Linked DNA regions of Homo sapiens: region 1 is linked to region 2. The links are contacts of gene promoters, found by promoter capture Hi-C in blood cells and fetal thymus (Javierre and others, 2016). All regions are on one chromosome and are shown on one strand. Each heading gives the region's core, a stretch centred on a gene start or on the middle of the fragment in contact. The rest is flanking DNA. Distances are from core to core; before and after follow the strand shown. Region 1 has its middle 18 kb from the start of THEMIS2. Region 2 holds the start of EYA3 (EYA transcriptional coactivator and phosphatase 3).

Evidence for each region. Contacts are between HindIII fragments. The CHiCAGO score rates a contact against its expected background, and 5 or more counts as called.
Region 1: a fragment that was not itself captured here is called in contact with the fragment with the promoter of EYA3 in region 2 in 6 of 17 cell types (endothelial precursors, M0 macrophages, M2 macrophages and 3 more); the score reaches 12.4 in endothelial precursors.

The regions. Positions count from the first base shown.
Region 1 is chr1:27,852,714-27,857,121 of GRCh38, forward strand. No RefSeq gene overlaps it. Among named protein-coding and RNA genes, the nearest start is that of THEMIS2, 18 kb to the right of the region's middle. RefSeq lists an enhancer at 3,825-4,119. The HindIII fragment of the contact is 5,873 bases long and covers 1-4,408 here.
Region 2 is chr1:28,086,996-28,090,971 of GRCh38, forward strand. EYA3 (EYA transcriptional coactivator and phosphatase 3) reads right to left here and starts at 1,615. Exons shown (of 18, transcript NM_001990.4): 1 at 1,529-1,615. RefSeq lists enhancers at 1,215-1,274, 1,485-1,554. The HindIII fragment of the contact is 6,678 bases long and covers 1-1,735 here.

The sequences.
Region 1 (4,408 bases), core at 393-2,892, 230 kb before region 2:
TCACATCTAGGAAGTGAGGAGCCTCTCTGCCCGGCCGCCTATCGTCTGAGATGTGGGGAGCGCCTCTGCCCGGCCGAGACCCCGTCTGGGAGGTGAGGAGCGTCTCTGCCCGGCCGCCCCGTCTGAGAAGTGAGGAGACCCTCTGCCTGGCAACCACCCCGTCTGAGAAGTGAGGAGCCCCTCCGCCCGGCAGCCACCCCATCTGGGAAGTGAGGAGCGTCTCCGCCCGGCAGCCACCCCGTCTGGGAGGGAGGTGGGGGGGGTCAGCCCCCCGCCCGGCCAGCCGCCTCATCCGGGAGGGAGGTGGGGGGTCAGCCCCCCCGCCCGGCCAGCCGTGCCGTCCAGGAGGGAGGTGGGGGGGTCAGCCCCCCGCCCGGCCAGCCGCCCCGTCCGGGAGGTGAGGGGCGCCTCTGCCCGGCCGCCCCTACTGGGAAGTGAGGAGCCCCTCAGCCCGGCCAGCCACCCCGTCCGGGAGGGAGATGGGGGGGTCAGCCCCCCCACCCGGCCAGCCGCCCCGTCCGGGAGGGAGGTGGGGGGGTCAGCCCCCCGCCTGGCCAGCCGCCCCGTCCAGGAGGGAGGTGGGGGGGTCAGCGCCCCGCCCGGCCAGCCGCCCCGTCTGGGAGGTGAGGGGTGCCTCTGCCCGGCCGCCCCTACTGGGAAGTGAGGAGCCCCTCTGCCCGGCCAGCCGCCCCATCCGGGAGGGAGGTGGGGGGGTCAGCCCCCCCGCCCGGCCAGCCGCCCTGTCCGGGAGGGAGGTGGGGGGGTCAGCCCTCCGCCCGGCCAGCCGCCCCGTCTGGGAGTTGAGGGGCGCCTCTGCCCGGCCGCCCCTACTGGGAAGTGAGGAGCCCCTCTGCCCGGCCAGCCGCCCCGTCCGGGAGGGAGGTGGGGGGGTCGGCCCCCCGCCCGGCCAGCCGCCCCATCCGGGAGGGAGGTGGGGGGGTCAGCCCCCCGCCCGGCCAGCTGCCCTGTCCAGGAGGGAGGTGGGGGTGTCAGCCCCACGCCCGGCCAGCCGCCTCGTCCGGGAGGGAGGTGGGGGGGTCAGCCCCACGCCCGGCCAGCCGCCTCGTCCGGGAGGGAGGTGGGGGGGTCAGCCCCCCCGCCCGGCCAGCCGCCCTGTCCGGGAGGGAGGTGGGGGGGTCAGCCCCACGCCCGGCCAGCCGCCTCGTCCGGGAGGGAGGTGGGGGGGTCAGCCCCCCCGCCCGGCCAGCCGCCTCGTCCGGGAGGGAGGTGGGGGGGTCAGCCCCACGCCCGGCCAGCCGCCTCGTCCGGGAGGGAGGTGGGGGGGTCAGCCCCCCCGCCCGGCCAGCCGCCCTGTCCGGGAGGGAGGTGGGGGGGTCAGCCCTCCGCCCGGCCAGCCGCCCCGTCTGGGAGTTGAGGGGCGCCTCTGCCCGGCCGCCCCTACTGGGAAGTGAGGAGCCCCTCTGCCCGGCCAGCCGCCCCGTCCGGGAGGGAGGTGGGGGGGTCGGCCCCCCGCCCGGCCAGCCGCCCCATCCGGGAGGGAGGTGGGGGGGTCAGCCCCCCGCCCGGCCAGCTGCCCTGTCCAGGAGGGAGGTGGGGGTGTCAGCCCCACGCCCGGCCAGCCGCCTCGTCCGGGAGGGAGGTGGGGGGGTCAGCCCCCCACCCAGCCAGCCGCCCCGTCCGGGAGGGAGGTGGGGGGGGTCAGCCCCCCTGCCCGGCCAGTGGCCCCGTCCGGGAGGTGAGGGGCGCCTCTGCCCGGCCGCCCCTACTGGGAAGTGAGGAGCCCCTCTGCCCGGCCAGCCGCCCCGTCCGGGAGGGAGGTGGGGGTGGTCAGCCCCCCCCGCCCGGCCAGCCGCCCCGTCCGGGAGGTGAGGGGCGCCTCTGCCCAGCCACCACCCCGTCTGGGAGGTGTGCCCAACAGCTCATTGAGAACGGGCCAGGATGACAATGGCGGCTTTGTGGAATAGAAAGGCGGGAAAGGCGGGGAAAAGATTGAGAAATCGGATGGTTGCCGTGTCTGTGTAGAAAGAAGTAGACATGGGAGACTTTTCATTTTGTTCTGCACTAAGAAAAATTCCTCTGTCTTGGGATCCTGTTGATCTGTGACCTTACCCCCAACCCTGTGCTCTCTGAAACATGTGCTGTGTCCACTCAGGGTTAAATGGATTAAGGGCGGTGCAAGATGTGCTTTGTTAAACAGATGCTTGAAGGCAGCATGCTCGTTAAGAGTCATCACCAATCCCTAATCTCAAGTAATCAGGGACACAAACACTGCGGAAGGCCGCAGGGTCCTCTGCCTAGGAAAACCAGAGACCTTTGTTCACTTGTTTATCTGCTGACCTTCCCTCCACTATTGTCCCATGACCCTGCCAAATCCCCCTCTGTGAGAAACACCCAAGAATTATCAATAAAAAAATAAATTAAAAAAAAAAAAAAAAAAATGAGTGTCCTCATCAGGACAATACCTTCCTCTCGTTTTAGTGAAGATGGTACTGTTGGTAGTGGTGAACAATCACTAAGCACCTGCCTACCTACCTACCATGTATCCATTTACAGCACGTCATCTAATTCTCATAGCCCCAAGAGGAATTCTGTTTTTATCCCCATTTTATAGATGAGAAAACTGAGACTGAGACTAAACAAACTTCCCTATGAGCCCCCTGTACTGAAGACAGGATTGAAACTCTAGTCTGAATCCAGAGTTTAAGGTGGGGATATGCTTGGTCCATAGGTGGCACACCCTTTAGTTTTTGTATTTTTAGTGGAGACGGGGTTTCACCATGTTGGCCGGGCTGGTCTCGAACTTCGGCCCTCAGGTGATCCAACTGCCTTGGCCTCCCAGAGTGCTGGGATTACAGGCGTGAGCCACCGAGTCTGGCCTGTTTTGTAGTTCTTTAAAAGATGTCCAAACTGAACAACTTACTGGAAGTGTGTTAAAGTATGTTAGATATAGCTGAGATGAAGTCCTTCCTGATGAGAAGGTTATGCCATGCATTTTTTTTCTTTTTCTTTTTTTTTTTTTTTGAGACAGAGTCTTGCTCTGTCACCCAGGCTGGAGCACAGTGGCACGGTCTCGACTCACTGCAACCTCCGCCTCCCAGGTTCAAGCAATTCTCCTGCCTCAGCCTCCTAAGTACCTGGGATTACAGGTACGCACCACCACGTCTGGCTAATTTTTGTATTTTTAGTAGAGATGGGGTTTCACTGTATTGGCCAGGCTGGTCTTAAACTCCTGACCTCGTGATCCGCCTGCGTCGGCCTCCCAAAGTGCTGGGATTACAGGCGTGAGCCACTGAGCCACCATGCATTCTTGCTTTCAGAATCTGAGTTGCAGAGTGAAACTTGGATTGGCATTTCAAAGAAGGCACAACAGAATATACATACCTGCAAGGATTTTTTTTTTTTTTTTTTTTTTTTTTTTGAGACAAAAGTCTCACTCTGTCCCCCAGGCTGAAGTGCAGTGGTGCGATCTCGGCTCACTGCAACCTCCGCTTCCTGGTTCAAGCGACTCTCCTGCCTCAACCTCCCGAGTAGCTGGGACTACAGGCACCAGCCACCATGCCCAGCTAATTTTTGTGTTTTTAGTAGAGGTGGGGTTTTGCCATGTTGGCCAGGCTGGTCTCAAACTCCTGACCTCAGGTGATCTGCCTGCCTCAGCCTCCCAAAGTGCTGGGATTACAGGCGTGAGCCATGGCCCCCGGCTGATATTTCATGTACTTTAAGGGCCCGGTTAAGCGGAAGCAGAACTGGGGAGGCATGTATGTGTGGAAACCTGGCTTAGCTGGCGCCATACTTCTGATTCCAATTATGTTTTAGGTGCCCTCAGAGATGAGCACTCCAAGATGGGGCTCAACTGCCTGTTACCCTAATTAGCTCTGGATGACAATACAGATGGATGAGCCCCTTCTGTTCACTCCCAGGATCAGCAGTGGCCTCATACTCATGTGAGCACAGTGCTGCTGAGGGACACAGCCTGTCCCTATCTTGGGACACAGGCCCACCCCGGATGAGAATTGACTGCTGGTTTCCCCGAAATCCTGTGCCTACTGGTGGGCCACCTGCTGAGAAGGGAAGGGAGACCCATGTTCCCCTCCCCGGGGGGGAGACGGTGGCAAATCCTGTGGAGAAAGACATCTACTGACTGAACGGCCCGTTCCCCAGGGGATCCTGGCCCAGGATCAGCTGTTTGATGACCGTTTGCCTAAAATATGCCCACTACTAAATATAGGTCAGAATTTCAGAGTCAAAAGAGACCTGGGAGGTTCTGTCTAGACCCTTCATTTTGCAAATGAGCAAACTATGGCAGTGAGGACTTGCTTCATTCAACTTGGATGGATCAGACGTCTATGACTTGGGCCTATGGAAGTGCACCACCCCTGCTACCCCAGCTACTACAAGAGGCTCACCTAGAGGGAGACAGCCAGGCACTCAGATGCTGTCTAGACCCTTG
Region 2 (3,976 bases), core at 365-2,864:
AAGATTTTTCTATAGCTAATTAGCCAAAAGATAAGCAGGTGCTCAAAGCTGTATTTAAGTTCATACTGAAGTACTACATTTTAAAGCACAATTTATAGATTACAGAAACTGATGACACAAAAACCGCTGCAATCAAGTGCTAGATATACACTATAAACATCGGGAAAAAATAAAGATTACCCAAGCCTATACTCTAGATCACAAAATTTGGGAAAGGGAGCACTAACCATTATTAAATGCAATTCCTTCATGTTATAAATGACTTTAAACCTCTAGGGAAATTTAAGAAAGGTGCCCTAAATCTCAAAATGAGAAAATGATAGTTTTACTACAAAGGTGGAAATGGTAAGGAAAAAAAAATACAAAAGTTAGAAGAATATTCTAAGTAATGTACTTCTAAGTAATGTAATTCTAAGTAAAGTCTGGCTAATGAAGGAAGAGGAAGACAAATAGAAAACTTAATACAGTAAAAATGAAAAAATGCATATGTGCATACTAAGTTTAAAGATTACTTTGAAATTACTATAGTGAACTCTTCAGCAGACCACTTTTCGGAAACAACACAATAAATTCATAAATCTGGGGCTAATGATCTCTCCACAAATTCTGTCCTCTATCATCACAAGTGTCCTGTAAGAAGCGTCCATGCCGAAAACAGAGCTGAACGTCCCAAAATATTGGCGTTTTTGCCTCAGCTGTGCACATCCATTCTCATGGGAACACAAAACTGACAGAACTTCTTCATGACTTGTCAATTAACAAGATCGCGCCAGCCCAACTGCTAGCAGTACCGTGTGCCTGCCACCTGTTAGCTGCTCTTGAGAGAGCCCCAAAACTGAGGTAAAGCGAAGAACTAGGAACGCCTTTGTTGTACCCTAACTATGGAAGCTACCAGAGTTCAGTCTAACCCGGCGCCTTAAGGCAAAACTTCCCCCAGGCTGGGGAAGTCTTCCCATTTCGGGGCTTTGGCAAAGCTCTCCTCTAGCTAAGGACAGGCAGAAGAACCCCAGGAGAAGCACTGTCACCTACTGGTCCCAGGAGGAAGGATCAAAGCTGAAGAAAGTTGGGGGACAAGGAACTAGGACCCTAGGGAGAGGCTCAGTTTCTCGTGGTGAAGAGTGAGCACAATGAGAAGCTGGGCCGTCTCGCTAGGTGAAAGAACGCTGAGATCCCAGATCAGGGGTAGGGGAAAAGAGGTTCTAAAAGAAGGGAGGAGGAGAAAAAAGGAGAGGCAGTGGCTGAGAGAAGCGCTGAGGCGTAAGGCAAGAAACCGAGGTTGGAAAAGGACTGATGAGGCTGAGGAAAAACAGCGAGGCGACAGAGGCACGGAAGCGCGAGAAGGCTAAGCTGAGGTGAATAAGGCGAGGCCAGCGTGAAGGAAAGGGCTGAGGTGAGTGAAGCACTGCAGTGACAAGGGACAGGCGAAGAGACTCCCACCCACAAGGACCGAGGCAGAACTCTAGACCCATCCCCCTTCACGCTGTGCTCGCCCGGCTGCGCTCAGACCCTGTTGGCAGCTGAGACTCACCCAAAGGCTGTAAAAGCCCCACAACAGGACATGGAGATCAGTCCAGACCCACAGTAGAACCAATCGAGCGGAGGAAACCGCGGCGTTAGCGTGACCCGGATGCGCATCGCTAGGAACCGGAAGTAAGCGGCCAGAGTCACCTCACAATCCACACCTCGTTCCACTAGAAACCTCTGGGCGCATGTGTTGAGTCTGACCGGGCGGGGAAGCTTTTAGGCTCCGCCCACTCCGCCGGCCCGGCGAGCCACGCCCATGGCCACGCCCCTCTTAGTGCCTCGGAGACAAGCAGCTTCTGGGTGAGCGCTAGGCAGTCCTGACGGTACTACAGCCTTCACTTTTAAGGAGGTCTTTAAAAATGCGCGTAATCCCTACCTGGCTAAAAGGAACGTAAGAAGTGTTGGGTGCATTTGGTAGATTTAGAAAAACTGGGAAGGAGAATGAGTGGGAAGTTTTGGAAGACATTTGGGAGGCTAGCCCAAGGTGATCTTTTTTTTTTTTTTTTTTTGAGACGGAGTTTCGCTCTTGTTGCCCAGGCTGGAGTGCAATGGCGCGATCTCGGCTCACTGCAACCTCCGCCTCCCGGGTTCAAGCGATCCTCCTGCCTCAGCCTTTCGAGTAGCTGGGATTACAGGCATGTGCCACCACGCCCGGCTAATTTTGTAGTTTTAGTAGAGACGGGGTTTCTCCATGTTGGTCAGGCTGGTCTTGAACTCCCGACCTCAGGTGATCCGCCCGCCTGGGCCTCCCAAAGTGCTGAGATTACAGGCGTGAGCCACCGCGCCCATCCCTTTTTTTTTTTCTTTTTTTGAGACAGAGTCTTGCTCTGTCGCCCAGGCTGGAGTGCAGTGGCGCGATCTCGGCTCACTGCAACCCCCGCCTCCTGGGTTCAAGTGATCCTCCCACCTCAGCCTCCCGAGTAGCTAAGACTACCGGCGCGCACCACCACGCCCGGCTAATTTTTGTATTTTTCGGTAGAGACGGGGTTTCGCCATGTTGCCCAGGCTGGTCTCCAACTCTGGAGCTCGGTTGATCCCTTGGCCTCCCAAAGTGCTGGGATTACAGGCGTGAGCCCCAAGGTGATCTTTTTATCCCCAAATTTAGTTTATTCTTAATATTATATTAGGCTTACAATTCACTTCGTGCACACTGTTTTCGGAAGCAAAATTCTTAAATGTTTCGTTAATTTTAAATTACAACCCAAGTATGGGCTAGAAGCAAGGTTGAATTCAGGCTTTGTGGAGACTTGACGTTTATTCAATTTGGGGGCCCTCTTTAAAATAATCAAGGCCAGGCACAGTGGCTCATGCCTGAAATCCTAGCACTTTGGGACGCCGAGGTCGACCGGTTGCTTGAGCCCCGGAGTTGGAGATCACCTGGGCAACAAAATTAGACCCTGTCTCTACAAAACAAACAAAGCAAAACAACAACAAAAAAAACCCAGAAAAATTAGCCAGGTGTGGTGGCACGCACCTAACTGAGCCCAGGAGGTAGAGGCTGCGGTGAGTTATGATTATGCCACTGCACTCCAGCCTGGGCAACAGAGCGAGACTGTCTAAAAAAAAAAAAAATCCAAAATTACAAATACAATATTAGATATAAAAGTGAACCTTTTATAATGAGAAAAATTACAAACATTTTTATTAGCTCACAAATACCACGAATAACAAAATCCAGAAAAAAAACTATTTTTTCTACATTTTTTGACTGTATATTTGATCACCTCTTCCGATGACAACAATGTACTAAGCAACATCATTTACTAAGATCCTTAACTCCTCTCTCATATCCCACATGTACTCCATCAGCAAGTTCTGCAAGATTTGCCTTCAAAATCTGTCCAGAACCTGACCATTTACTGCCTCCGTTGGTATAAACCAGTCAGTCAGTGACTGTGAGTGCCCTATTTATACTCTTGCCTTCCCACAATCTTTTTTTTTTTTTTTTTTTCAGACAGAGCCTCCCTCTGTCACCCAGGCTGGAGTGTACTGGCCTGATCTTGGCTCAGTGCAACCTCTGCCTCCTGGGTTCTCCTGCCTCAGCCTCCTGAATAGCTGGGATTACAGGGGCCCGCCAGCACGCGCGGCTAATTGTTATATTTTTAGTAGAGACGGGGTTTTGCCATGTTGGCCAGACTGGTCTTGAACTCCTGGCCTCAAGTGATCCACCCGCCTCAGCCTCCCAAAGTGCTGGGATTACAGGTGTGAGCCTCCACGCCCGGCCCCCACAATCTATTAATATAGTAGCAATGGGCTCCTGTTAAAACCCTAATTAGATCATATCCTTCCTCCAATGCATTCCTATTTCAGAGTAAAAACCAAAATCCTTACATTGGTCTACAGGACCCTCAAGATTTGACACCTCCAGTACAGCTCTGCTCTAACCTCAACTCCTACTCCTTCTGTCATCCTTCCCCTTAAAGCACATTGGCCTCTGCCATTCCTCAAAACT